Regions from separate parts of the Homo sapiens genome. Here all the other regions are linked to region 3. The links are contacts of gene promoters, found by promoter capture Hi-C in blood cells and fetal thymus (Javierre and others, 2016). All regions are on one chromosome and are shown on one strand. Each heading gives the region's core, a stretch centred on a gene start or on the middle of the fragment in contact. The rest is flanking DNA. Distances are from core to core; before and after follow the strand shown. Region 1 overlaps RC3H2 (ring finger and CCCH-type domains 2). Region 2 overlaps ZBTB6 (zinc finger and BTB domain containing 6). Region 3 holds the start of RBM18 (RNA binding motif protein 18). Region 4 overlaps PDCL (phosducin like). Region 5 has its middle 7.7 kb from the start of PDCL.

Region 1 (2,700 bases), core at 69-2,568, 590 kb before region 3:
TGGAGAGGTAAAGAAACTGAACCTTTCGGCTTCATGCTTAATGTATTTGTTTTCTGCTGCTGCATCTTGGTTATACCATTACTGAGTGCATTTTGGTGTGCCTATCTCTGATGGATGATTGATTGCTTTTAAAACTTATAACAGAAATAAAATTGTAATCCCAGATTTCTTAAATAATTCTTTAACTAGATCATCGGGATTTTTGTTTTTTTGAGATGGAATCTTGCTCTATCGCCTGGAGTGCAATGGCACGATCTTGGCTCACTGCAGCCTCTGGCTCTCAGGTTCAAGCGATTCTCCTGCCTCAGCTTCCCGAGTAGCTGGGATTACAGGCACCCACCACCATGCCCAGCTAATTTTTGTGTTTTTAGTAGAGACAGGGTTTCACCATGTTGGCTAAGCTGGTCTTGAACTCCTGACCTCAAGTGATCTGCTCGCCTCACCTTCCCAAAGTGCTAGGATTACAGGTGTGAGCCCCCGTGCCTGGCTGATCATTGGGATTTTTTACTTTAATTTAAAAGGGAAACCCCAGGTTCCACAGGTATAAAATCAGTATTTTTCTTTTTTTTTTTTTTTTTTTATTGATCATTCTTGGGTGTTTCTCACAGAGGGGGATTTGGCAGGGTCATAGGACAATAGTGGAGGGAAGGTCAGCAGATAAACAAGTGAACAAAGGTCTCTGGTTTTCCTAGGCAGAGGACCCTGCGGCCTTCCGCAGCGTTTGTGTCCCTGGGTACTTGAGATTAGGGAGTGGTGATGACTCTTAATGAGCATGCTGCCTTCAAGCATCTGTTTAACAAAGCACATCTTGCACCGCCCTTAAGCCATTTAACTCTGAGTGGACACAGCACATGTTTCAGAGAGCACAGGGTTGGAGGTAAGGTCACAGATCAACAGGATCCCAAGGCAGAAGAATTTTTCTTAGTACAGAACAAAATGAAAAGTCTCCCATGTCTACTTCTTTCTACACAGACACGGCTACCATCCGATTTCTCAATCTTTTCCCCACCTTTCCCCCCTTTCTATTCCACAAAACCGCCATTGTCATCATGGCCCGTTCTCAATGAGCTGTTGGGCACACCTCCCAGACGGGGTGGTGGCTGGGCAGAGGGGCTCCTCACTTCCCAGTAGGGGCGGCCGGGCAGAGGCGCCCCTCACCTCCCGGATGGGGCGGCTGGCCAGGCGGGGGGCTGACCCCCCCACCTCCCTCCCGGACGGGGCGGCTGGCCGGGCAGAGGGGCTCCTCACTTCCCAGTAGGGGCGGCAGGGCAGAGGCGCCCCTCACCTCCCGGACAGGGCGGCTGGCCGGGTTGGGAGCTGACCCCTCCACCTCCCTCCCGGTCAGGGCGGCTGGCCGGGCCGGGGGCTGACCCCCACACCTCCCTCCCGGACGGGGCGGCTGGCCGGGCGGGGGGCTGACCCCCCCACCTCCCTCCCGGACGGGGCGGCTGGCTAGGCAGAGGGGCTCCTCACTTCCCAGTAGGGGCGGCCGGGCAGAGGCGCCCCTCACCTCCCGGACGGGGCGGCTGGCCAGGCGGGGGGCTGACCCCCCCACCTCCCTCCCGGACGGGGCGGCTGCCGGGCGGAGACGCTCCTCACTTCCCAGACGGGGTGGCTGCCAGGCAGAGAGGCTCCTCACTTCTCAGACGGGGCGGCTGCCGGGCGGAGAGGCTCCTCACTTCTCATACGGGGCGGCTGCCGGGCGGAGGGTCTCCTCACTTCTCAGACGGGGCGGCCGGGCAGAGACGCTCCTCACCTCCCAGACGGGGTGGCGGCCGGGCAGAGGCATTCCTCACATCCCAGACAGGGCGGCGGGGCAGAGGCGCTCCCCACATCCCAGACGACGGGCGGCCGGGCAGAGACGCTCCTCACTTCCTAGATGTGATGGCGGCCGGGAAGAGGCGCTCCTCACTTCCCAGATGGGATGGCGGCCGGGCAGAGACGGTCCTCACTTTCCAGACTGGGCAGCCAGGCAGAGGGGCTCCTCACATCCCAGACGATGGGCGGCCAGGCAGAGACGCTCCTCACTTCCCAGACGGGGTGGCGGCCGGGCAGAGGCTGCAATCTCGGCTTTTTGGGAGGCCAAGGCAGGCGGCTGGGAGGTGGAGGTTGTAGCGAGCCGAGATCACGCCACTGCACTCCAGCCTGGGCGCCATTGAGCACTGAGTGAACCAGACTCCGTCTGCAATCCCGGCACCTCGGGAGGCCGAGGCTGGCAGATCACTCGTGGTTAGGAGCTGGAGACCAGCCCGGCCATCACAGCGAAACCCCGTCTCCACCAAAAAAATACGAAAACCAGTCAGGCGTGGCGGCGCGCGCCTGCAATTGCAGGCACTCTGCAGGCTGAGGCAGGAGAATCAGGCAGGGAGGTTGCAGTGAGCCGAGATGGCAGCAGTATAGTCCAGCTTCGGCTCGGCATGAGAGGGAGACCATGGAAAGAGAGGGAGAGGGAGACCATGGGGAGAGGGAGACCATGGGGAGAGGGAGAGGGAGAGGGAGAGCAAAATCAGTATTTTTCTTAGTTACAGAGTGATTATACAGAAGATGCAACAGATACTAAACCTGATAGGGATATCGAGTTAGAGCTTTCAGCACTTGATACTGATGAACCTGATGGACAAAGTGAACCAATTGAAGTAAGTGCCACAATTAGATAATTGAGAGGCTTTGTTTGATTGAAAATTTATAAAATACTTTCAT
Region 2 (2,700 bases), core at 74-2,573, 640 kb before region 3:
AAGAAATGGTTCATTGGGCCCGAGTTTCTTGATTTTATTTAATACAATCGGATTTAATAATTTTGTGGCCAGTAAAATTATACCATTGGCATGAAGCTGTGAAAAATGAGAAATTCTACCTTTACCAGGGATATCTGTTCTACTGTTTTAAAAGTTCCTCTCTATTTTATTTTTTATTTAACATGAAGTAAAATTGAAATTTCTTCTTGGTGTATAGTTCTGTGAATTTTAACAGAAAGATTTGTGCACCACTACTGCAGTCGGTACAGAACAGTTCCTTCACTCCCAATAGCTCTCTTATGCTGTCCCTTTGTAGTCAGCTCCTTCTAGCTCTAATCCTGGCAACAGTTCTCCGTCACTATTATTTTGCCTTTTCTGGACTGTCATATAAACAGAATCTTATAGTACGTTCCCTCTTGAAATGCTTTTTCACCCAGCATAATGACTTTGAGGTTCATCCATGTCATTTTAAATTTTGAATTGGCAATATATATTCTAGCTGTTACTAGATGAGCAATTTAAAAAGGTGTAGCTATTAGTGTTGTATTTTTTCATTTACATTAATGTAATTTCCATTCACTATGTGTTGATAAAAATCTTAACCATCCCTAGAGTTTTATATTTCCAAAAATATGCCAAAAGGAAAACTATGACTGTATGATTATTTTAGCGAGAGTCATATTTGAGATGGTGTTCTGAGCCATAGTTCTCTAACATCTCCGTCTACATATAACACAAAACTTTTATAAATTATTTTAACAAAGATTAAAATATACTGCAGGGCAAATAATATTCTCTAAAACACAGGAACTGCTTTTCGTAAAGAAGACTGACTAGATGCATCTTTCTTTGAAGCTGTTCTAGTCCTCCTCTAGTTAACTTAGCTTTATGTAGAATTTCTACTGTATTTAATTTCTATTGAAGCCCTTCTGTATTTTAAAATGTAATATACTTTGTACCATTTATAAAAATTGTGTGATGAATGAATCACATGTTCGTTGTTATAAGTGTTAACCTTTTTTTGACAATTTTGTGGGAAAGACATTCTCCACTGAATTTTAACTTTCCTTGAGACTTTCAAGAATGCAGGTCTCGTTTGATGAAAAAACCGACTTCATAACCCAATGTTACTAGTTAGCGACATTGTGCTGAATTTCTCCTTGAACTTTTTAACTTTATATGTAAAATAACTTTGATCTTGGTCATTTGAAAGATCATTTCCAGGTCTAAAATTCCATGATTTTGTATTTAATTCTTCCTGAGAACAGAAGAGGGGAAAGCAAGAGAGGACGGTTTTGTGTCTTTATGAACTTTGTTACTTAAGTACTCCATTGGAGACATAATTTTTCTAATTAGTGGATCTTTTTCCACTGGAAAGTGTGATAGCTCATTGCTAATTTTTCATTCATAGTTCATTGCTTCCATTTGACCTAAGATTGGCCATTTGTTGGTGTGAAAATATTTTCTTTTCAGAAATAGTTTACTAGTGATTGAAGTACTTTTCTTATTTTTGCTTCCTATTATAAAATGGCGTGGGGGGAAGGGGGAAGGATGGAGATGGGAGGAGAGGGTAAAAGAATAGTACTCTGATTTTTTAAGAATTAGTATCTACTATCTTGGATATTTGAAAAAAAATTGGTTGAAACTATGTTTAAGTTTTATGTGTGCCTTGTAAGATTGTTGTAAAATTTTTTGTGAGCACTTTGAGATTTTTGCTGGGGGAGGGGTGTTTTGTGAAAGTGATGGTTATTATTTATATTATTTATTCCTGTTCAGTAGCACGGAATGATCTCCAAACATTCCTAGGAGAGTGTCTGTTTGCATGATATGTCTAAAAATTTTCAGGAAAATGGAATCTTTTTTTAAAGTTCAGGTATGACAAAGTATAGAATTTATTCATTTAACATATTCACATTTAGTTTATGTTTCTGATATGACAGAAAAATGAAAAGTGTTTGAGTTCAGCCTCTTCATTTACTCCATTTACATATAAAAGATCTTGAAAAGGTAGTTGTTACTTCGTTGTCAGAGAAAAACACTTGCCCTTTTTCCTGGGATGTAACTATCTTACATGTTTACATAAGAAATAATAAACTGGAGGTGGGAATGGAGAACAATGTGTTTTGTCTTCATCTTTGAATTTTAAAGGATACAATTTAAAGGATACAATTTCTCCTGACTATACATTAATCATTCATCTAGCAAATACTTCCTGAGTCCTTACAATGAAATATAAGTTAGGTATACAGACAAAAATTCCTGCTCTTGTGAAACATCTTAGTGAAGGGAGACAAACAGTAAACAAGTAAGTAAAATCCATGTATGTCAAATTTTGAGAAGGAATTTGGAGAAAAATCAGGAATAGGGAGTACCAGAGAAGGGGGATGGAATTGCAATTTTAAATATGGTGGTCAGCGCCGGGCGCCGAGGCTCAGGCCTGTAATCCTAACACTTAGGGAGGCCGAGGCTGGCAGATCACTTGAGGTCAGGAGTTTGAGACAAGCCTGGCCAACCTGATGAAAACCCTTCACTAAAAATACAAAAATTAGCCGGGCATGGTAGCGCTTGCCTGTAATCCCAGCTACTCGGGAGTCTGAGACAGGAGAATCCGTTGAACCTGGGAGGCAGAGGTTGCAGTAAGCCAATATCGCACCGCTGCAGTCAGCCTAACTGAGGGAGCAAGACCCCATCTCAAAAATA
Region 3 (2,700 bases), core at 124-2,623:
CATATGACTCTAAGTACTACAAGGACTAATCTATGATTTTCTTGTTCACTGCTGTATCCCCAGTACCTGGTACATTGCCAGAACACAGAAGACACTGTGAATGTGATGAATACATCAGTGAAAGTCCAGAAAGATAAATTCCTTATCCAGGGTAAACCAGAATCGGATGGGAATCTACCCTTACTATTATGGTAGGTTCTGGGCTTCCCAGCGTTGCCTCCACTGTCTCTGGTTTGCCAGATTTTTGCTTAGAGATAGTAGATGATGTTCTTCTCTAAATGCAGTACCAGGTAAAGAAAGGTACTTGTAGTATCTGACTATACACAGAATCATTATGCACCTGGCACGGCCAAAGAAGGAATGAGACACTTTAACAGGTAGAGAAAGGGCTTTTGCCTAAGAGTTAAGAGATCTGGATTCCAGTATGCCTACCTTATCACTCCCTGCCATCTGCCATTTAGATTCATAATCACACGTATTCAAAAAGCATTTGCGGCAGCTCTACCACTGACTTGTGACTTGTACCAAGTGATTTCTCCTACGTAGATTTTGTTTCAACCATAAAATGAAGGGGTCAGATCAGGTTTTCATTCTTTCCAACTATAAAGCTTTCCAAAATGGGGGGAAATGCAACAGTGTGGTTTAAAACAAAATAAAGGCACTAAACTTAGAGAAAACTCCGAGTCTTGGTTCCAGCACTTCCTAGGCACGTGACCTTAAATCGGTCAAACTCTCAGGACTTCCGTCTCATCTGTAAAACGTAAATGACAATACTATTTGTCAGGGTTAAGTAAATGGAGAAGGGCTACTGAAATGACAACTGTTTTGCCACTGGGTGGCACAGAGTGGTGGTTAAAAGTCCAGGCTTAGGAGTCGGATAGCCCTAGGTCTGAATTTAAGCGCCCTCACTTTCTGACCGCGTGACCCTGGTAAAATTACCTATGTGAGCTTCCGTTTCTTCATTATGGGAGATAATAATATCTACTCCTATGGGATTGTTCTGAAACTCAAACGTTCCCGTCAAGTGTGCGGCTACTCTTTAGTAAGTTCCTCCAGCATCCCCTAAATTCCTAGCTGGTAAAAGGAGCCCCGCCCCCACCCCATGAGACTCGCTCCAATGCCACAGGTCCCGCCCTCAGCCTTAAAGGTCAAGCTGGACTCGAACGGGTCGGGGACGGTAGTCTGGTCCCCTGAGGTCCCCCAGAGGTCCCTGAGTAAGGGTCTCTGGCACCCAGACCACACGCGCCCCTCGAGGCCCTGTCAAGGACACTCACCAGCTATCGCCCAGGTTACTAAGGAAAGACTCGTGCGACGGCGGCGACCGCAGCTGCGCGGACGTCGTGACGTCACGAAGCCAGGAGGCGGCGCAGGCTTAACGCGTCACGGGCGGCCTGGCAGCTGGCGGCATTGAGGCGGACGCGTCTAGAGGTCCGTCTGACCGCGGCGTCGGGACCTGGTTTCCGGGCATGAGCTGAGAGCACCACGCCGAGGCCACGAGGTGAGTTCGGCCGCGACATGTCCCTGCACCTCAGCGATGGGCCCGCTAAGAGGTCTTACAGGAGGCCGCCCTCGCAGGACTGCATCTCAGGCCCCGCCCCGGATTGTCCTGTCGCTGGCCCGGAAATAACAATCCGAGTAATGACCCTTCGCCTGTAGGAATTCGCAGCCAGAAATCGGGAAGCCAGGGTTCCAGGCATGACCCCACCGCTTGCTGTTAGGATCAGGTGTCTCTTCTTCTCTGGATTGCACTTTCCCCAGATGACTATTTCTGGCTTCCAGAGTTATTGCAGCTCAGCTGGAAAGACAAATGTAACCGCGTTTTGTGAACTCTGGTAGTCTAAAGGATTGTTGCTATTGCAAACGCAAAGCATTTTGATAGTCCCGTGCCGTCTTGATCTTTTATTACCCTTTACCTTTCCTCAAAAAGCCATATTCTGAGCTGTCACCAAAATTGTCTTATTTAAGACTCACAACGACCTCGTGAGACGACAAATTGTACCCATTCTAGGAAGGAAAAAGAAACTAAGTCTTCGAGTGGAGAAGCGGCTTGCTTCATTTAGTAAATATTAAGCACCAACCGTGAGACAGGCAGTGTACTTAAGTGCTAGAAATAGAACCGTGATCAAGATTGGCAAGGTCCTGTGCTGTGGGAGCTTACGTTCTAGTGAAGGAAATAGAAGAGGAAACATTAAGTAATACATTGAATTAGCATTTAGTAGGAGGAAAAAGATGGAAAAGTGGCTATGATATAGAATAACAAGGAACTCTGTTTAGGAAAGCTTTTCTATCGAGAGGATGCTTAAAGAAAGGTCATGTGACTTGCTAAAGGTGCAGTTACTAGGTGCAAAAGTCAGGATTTGAACCCAGACCCGCATAGCCTGCACTCTTACCAGTAAAACATGGTACCTTTTCGTGGTAATAAATATTAATAGCTATTGGTATTATTCCTGATTTTAGACATGAGAAAATCAGAATGTCCTATCATTCAAGTCCCAAATGTCATCTCCTTTAGAGAGGCCTTCCCTCCACTCAATCTATAGTCGTCGAGTCCCTGTCACATCACCCTGCTTAATTGTGTTTGTGGCATGTATCACTAATTATATCTTCTTTATTTATTTTGCTTTTGTTTTGTCCTGCTCCCCTTCCAAATACAAGCATCCAGAGGATAGGGACCTTGCTTGTTCACTGCTCTGACTCCAG
Region 4 (2,700 bases), core at 145-2,644, 550 kb before region 3:
CCAGGCTTTTGAACTGTTTACTTAAGATTCTGTGGTGTGACATCTCTGTTATTGTTTCCAGTCAATATTTACAAAGCATCCTAAAGACAGGGTCTTGGAAATTGTCTTCAGATGATCTTAGAGGTCTCTGCCAAGTCTGAGAGTATAATTCTGTAGGTATTGTGTTATTTGCAACGTAAATAGTGCATTTTCTTAATCAAATGATTGTAAATTATATTTACTTGTAATCAGTTCCATAGCTTTAGACGGTGGTTAGATTTTTTTTTTCCCCACCAGGGTCTTGTTTAAAGGGGTGAGCCACCGCACCCAGTCCTGAGGGGTGGCCTCTGCTGCTGGATTTCATGTCTTCCTCCAGCATGACTAAGTCTGGAACAGCAGGAAGGGTTGATGCTTACTGACCTGGTGATGTTAGAAGACAAGTAGTTTATGGATTTAAACATTAGAGCTGGAGTGGGGCTGGAAATCTTTGTAAAGGAAGTTCTTTCAGTAAGATGCCCCTGCTTGTCTTTGTCTCTTTTTTGTTTAACAAGGTAACTTTTTGTTTAACAAGGTAACTTTTTGTTTAACCTAGATTTTTTTTAAAACTTTTTTTTTTTTTCATATTGGAAAAGTAATTCATATTCAGTAGAGGAAAACTGACCAAAACAGAAGCAAAAATAAGAAAATTAAAATAATCTCTAATCCTACTACCTAGAATAAAACACTATTAATATTTTGGTCTGTTTCCTGCCAAGGTGTTTTCTGTGTATACATGGATATTTTGTTTGTTTTTAAACAAAACGATGGGATCATTCTGAACATACTGTTCTATAGTATGGTCAGCTAATAATATATCAGACCTTTTTTTATATTATTAAATATTCTACAACTTTTTAAAAATGTCTATTAATATTCCATCGTATAGATGTGATATAATTTGCTTGATGGTTGTCTCTTAAAAAGAAAGATAGCAAATACTTTTTTTAAATTACAAAAGTGATAGATGTTCATTGTAGAAAATGTAATAAACACTGTTAAGACTTAAAAGCCATATAATTCCACCAACCAAAATTAATCCCTTTTGTCATATTTCTAGTCATTTTTATAGCCTTTTTTTCTATGTATTTATAATAATTATCATTTGCGTTTTTTTCCTTTTTTTAACTTTAAAAATGTATATTCTAGGGTCAGGGGAAATGTAATCTGGAATTAAATATTAGCCTTAAAATTCACAATTTTGATTTTCCTGGCTTTTCAGGAATTGACTAACTGTAAAAGAGTCTTGAAAGTATTTAGTCAACAAACAGAGTGCATTTTTTTTTTTTTTGACTAAGAAAGCTCGTTGTAGTAGAAAGGGTGGAATGTATTGAAAATTATTAGAAGCAGGGAAGTATTGTTAGTCTAGCTTATTTCCTTTCAGTCTTTTTTCAATATTTTTATAAACATTGAGTACTTACTGAATTTAGTTCTGTGCTCTTCCTTATTTAGTGTTGTATCATAAATACTTTGATGTTTCAAACATTCTAAATAAATAATTTTCAGTGGCTTCATAATATTTCATCATTTGGATATATAATAATTTATTTAACCAGTCTCTTTATTTTTATTTATTTATTTTGTTTGTTTTCTTTGAGATGGAGTCTCGCTCTGTCACCCAGGCTGGAGTACAATAGCGTGATCTCGGCTCACTGCAACCTCCACCTCCTGGGTTCAAGCAGTTCTCCTGCCTCAGCCTCCTGAGTAGCTGGGACTACAGGCACATGCCATCACGCCTGGCTAATTTTTGTATTTTTACTAGAGACGGGGTTTCACCATGTTGGCCAGACTGGTCTCAAGCTCCTGACCTCAGGTAATCTGCCCGCCTCGGCCTCCTAAAGTGCCGGGATTACAGGCGTGAGCACGCTGCACGGCCTAACCAATCTCTTTATATTGGTTATTTAGATTCTCAGTGTTTTGCTGAACACTTAATGCCTTTGTGTTTTGGGCTATATTTTGAATTATTCTCATAGATTTCTAGAAGAGGAATTACTGGGCAAATAGGGACACTTAAAAATAGCTTTTACAAACCATCTTCTGTTCTCATTGAAAATGAGAATATATTATGCACTTACAGGGAACTTGACTTTGCTTTTCAAGAACAGAAGTTCTAAAATACAGTAGGGCTGGGTGTGGTGGTTCATGCCTGTAATTCCAGCACTTTGGGAGGCTGAGGCAGACATAGTGAGGCCTCATCTCTACAAAAAATAGAAAAAATTAGCTGGGCACGGTGTTGTACCTCTAGTCCCAGCTACTTGGGAGGCTTAGTCAGGAGGATCTCTTGAGCCTGGGAGGTCAAGGCTGCAGTGAACCATGATTGCACTCCAACCTGGGCGACAGAGACCCTGTCTCAAAAAAAAAAAAAAAAAAAAAAATTAAAAAAAAGAGTAGACATGTAATGGTAATGGAGAAATCCTAGACTTTTTTTTTTGGAGATGGTGTCTCACTCTGTTGCCCAGGCTGGAGTACAGTGGCACAATCTCAGGTTACTGCAACCTCCGCCTCCTGGATTCAAACGATTCTCCTGCCTCAGCCTCCTGAGTAGCTGGGATTACAGGTGCCTGCCACCATGCCTGGCTAATTTTTGTATTTTTAGTAGAGATGGGGTTTCACCATGTTAGCCAGGCTGGTCTCGAACTCCTGACCTCAGGTGATCACCTGCCTCGGCCTCCCAAAGTGCTGGGA
Region 5 (2,700 bases), core at 98-2,597, 570 kb before region 3:
TCCTGACCGGCCAGGCACCGTAGCTGGGCGGCTGGACGGAGCCCAGGGACTGGTAGTTGGTGGAGAAGGTGGAGCGAGTGGTGAAGCTCATGCTGTCTGGAGAGGAGAGAGAGAGGACAGGAGTCAGGCTTTGCTGACCGTATGTGTGTTTTAGACAGGGTCTCACTCTGTTGCCCAGAGCAGTGGCGCAATCATGGCTCACTGCAGCCTTGACCTCTGGGGCTAAAGTGATTCTCCCACCTCAGCCTCCTGAGTAGCTGGGACTACAGGTGCACACCACCATGCCTGGCTAATTTTGTTTTTTTAATTTTCTGTAGAGACAGGTTTCACGATGTTGCCCAGTCTCAAGGATTATTTTGGAATTGTAAGATTTAATATCTGCCCTGCTGAGTTTCAGACTTGCATAGGGCCTGTAGCCCCTTTATTTCGGTCAGTTTCTCCCTTTTGGAATGGGAATGTTTACCCAATGCCTGTACTACCGTTGTTTATTGGAAGTAAATAACTGGTTTTGATTTTACAGGTTCATAGGTGAAAGAAAGTGAGTCTCAGAGAAGACTTAGGACTTTTGATTTGATGTTGGAATGAGTTAAGACTTTGGGGGATTAACGAGAAGGGATTATTGTATTTTGCAACGTGAGGAGGACATGAGATGTGGGGGATGGGTGCCAGGGGAGGAATGATATGATTTGGATATTTGTCCCCTCCAAATCTCATGTTGAAATGTGACCTCGTGTTGGACGTGGGGCCTAGTGGGACGTATTGGATCATGGGGATGGATCCCTCATAAATGGCTTAGTGCCATCCCCTTGGTGATGAGTTCTTGCTCAGTTCATGCTAGATCTGGTTGTTTAAAAGAGGGTGACACCTCCCCTACCCCCACCTTGCTTCTGCTCTCACCACGTGATATGCTGGCGCCTCTTTGCTTTCTGTCATGATTGTAAGCTTCCTCAGGCCCTCACCAGGAGCTAAGCAGCTATTGGTGCCATGCCTGTACAACCTGCGGAACTGTGAGCCAAATTAAACCTCTTTTCTTTATCAGTATCGGTATTTCTTTATGTAGAAATACCAGTCTCAGGTTTTTTTTTTTTTGTTTTTTGTTTTTCTTTTTTTTGAGACAGTCTTGCTCTGTTGCCAGGCTGGAGTACAGTGGCGTTATCTTGGCTCACTGCAACCTCCGCCTCCCGGGTTCAAGCGATTCTTACGCGTTAGCCTCCTGAGTAGCTGGGACTATAGGCGCCCACCACCATGCCCAGCTAATTTTTGTATTTTTAGTAGAGACGGGGTTTCACCATGTTGGCCAGGATGGCCTCAATCTCCTGACCTCGTGATCCACCCCCCTCGGCCTCCCAAAGTGCTGGGATTACAGGCGTGAGCCACCGCGCCCGGCCATCTCAGTTATTTCTTTATAGCATCACAAGAAAGGACTAATACAGCTACTGTTAGTTTCTGGCCACATGAGCTTCTCTGTAGTGCAGCTCACAATATGGTAGAGTGGCTCATCCAAGCAGCAAGCAATACAGGCAACAGAGAGTGAGAGAGAGAGAGTGTGTGCTAAAAAGACGTCACAGTCTTTTATAACCAAATTTTGGAAGCAACATCCCATTACTTTTGTGGTATTCTAATCCTTAGAAGCAAGGGAAAGGGATTACACAGGGCATGAATACCAAGAGGCGGGGAACTTTGGGAGTAGTATCAGTCTGTGTCCAATCAGGAGGTAGAAACTACACAGTACGTTATATGGGGTAAAGCTTAATATAAAGAATCATTAAATGCTAATAAATGACTACCAGCTAAAAGTAAATTCCACATAGTACTCTATAGGTTAGGGAGAGTACCTAAGGAAACACAAACTTGGAAAGGGGTCCACTTCTCAAGGCTGAGGGTCACACCTCGGAGAAGGTATAGTTCAGCCCAGAGGTCCGCTAGTTGGCCCAGGCTGGAACTAGTCACTGGCAGACAGAAAGCTACTCTCCAGGCAGCAGGAGAGGTACACAGGAGCCTGCAGAGAGAGTTGGCTGGTGGGGGACAGGAAACTGGTAGGCGACAGGAAGGAAGCCTTCAGAAAGCTAATTTTCGCATTGAGAGGGCCACAGGAAAATTGTTGCTGGTCTAGACTGAGGTTGCAATGTCACCAAGGGACCATATGTGCTGGACACATGGCTGGGAAAGAGCTCCCCTGGATGTCATTACATCCACATCACTGACCTACCACGAAACTGTGGGAAACAGTAGGAGAGCCCCTCCTCCTGCAATGCCCCTCCAGTGCCCTCTACTGAGAAAGCTCATCACTGTGCTCACTGCAAAGGAGAAATGCTTCACTGAATTCTATCCATTATTGAAGAGCATATATTCAAGGGCGAATTGGGAGCAGAGGGGCAATAAATTGATCATTAGCCTAGGAGCGATTTTAGAAGCTGCCTGCCATAGCCCTATAACTACCAAAGAAATTGAATTAATTATGAAAAACCTTCCCACAAAGAAAACTCCAGGCCCAGATCGCTTCACAGGTTTATTCTATTATTAATAAATATTTAAGGAGAAATAATGCCAATTTTACAGAAGCTACTTCAGAAAGTGGAAGAGGGAACTTACAACTAGTTTTATTAGATAAACATAACCACACAGTACATTACAAAAAAAGAAAATCGTAGGTTAATATCTCTCATGAACATAGATGCAAAAATCCTTAAAATGTTAGTA

The links. The method cuts DNA at HindIII sites, captures the fragments that hold promoters and counts their contacts. A CHiCAGO score of 5 or more calls a contact.
Region 1: a fragment that was not itself captured here is called in contact with the fragment with the promoter of RBM18 in region 3 in 6 of 17 cell types (activated CD4 T cells, total CD4 T cells, naive CD8 T cells and 3 more); the score reaches 7.3 in activated CD4 T cells.
Region 2: a contact is called between a fragment that was not itself captured here and the fragment with the promoter of RBM18 in region 3, in 1 of 17 cell types (monocytes). The highest score is 5.4, in monocytes.
Region 4: a contact is called between a fragment that was not itself captured here and the fragment with the promoter of RBM18 in region 3, in 13 of 17 cell types (endothelial precursors, naive CD4 T cells, naive CD8 T cells and 10 more). The highest score is 12.3, in endothelial precursors.
Region 5: a contact is called between a fragment that was not itself captured here and the fragment with the promoter of RBM18 in region 3, in 8 of 17 cell types (activated CD4 T cells, naive CD4 T cells, M1 macrophages and 5 more). The highest score is 8.8, in activated CD4 T cells.

The regions. Positions count from the first base shown.
Region 1 is chr9:122,851,259-122,853,958 of GRCh38, reverse strand. RC3H2 (ring finger and CCCH-type domains 2) reads left to right here. Exons shown (of 21, transcript NM_001100588.3): 18 at 1-7; 19 at 2,523-2,636. Among named protein-coding and RNA genes, the nearest start is that of PDCL, 24 kb to the right of the region's middle. RefSeq lists an enhancer at 1,822-2,597. The HindIII fragment of the contact is 6,549 bases long and covers 1-2,700 here.
Region 2 is chr9:122,907,467-122,910,166 of GRCh38, reverse strand. It overlaps ZBTB6 (zinc finger and BTB domain containing 6), which reads left to right. Exons shown (of 2, transcript NM_006626.6): 2 at 1-2,111. Among named protein-coding and RNA genes, the nearest start is that of RC3H2, 3.5 kb to the right of the region's middle. The HindIII fragment of the contact is 5,725 bases long and covers 1-2,700 here.
Region 3 is chr9:122,263,513-122,266,212 of GRCh38, reverse strand. It overlaps RBM18 (RNA binding motif protein 18), which reads left to right and starts at 1,373. Exons shown (of 6, transcript NM_033117.4): 1 at 1,373-1,498. MRRF (mitochondrial ribosome recycling factor) reads right to left here and starts at 1,331. Exons shown (of 7, transcript NM_138777.5): 1 at 1,275-1,331. RefSeq lists enhancers at 914-1,073, 249-1,219, 642-1,841, 1,220-2,191. The HindIII fragment of the contact is 1,671 bases long and covers 611-2,281 here.
Region 4 is chr9:122,817,178-122,819,877 of GRCh38, reverse strand. PDCL (phosducin like) reads left to right here. Exons shown (of 4, transcript NM_005388.5): 4 at 1-1,781. Among named protein-coding and RNA genes, the nearest start is that of PDCL, 10 kb to the left of the region's middle. The HindIII fragment of the contact is 3,417 bases long and covers 1-2,700 here.
Region 5 is chr9:122,834,945-122,837,644 of GRCh38, reverse strand. It overlaps the pseudogene KRT18P67. Among named protein-coding and RNA genes, the nearest start is that of PDCL, 7.7 kb to the right of the region's middle. The HindIII fragment of the contact is 806 bases long and covers 945-1,750 here.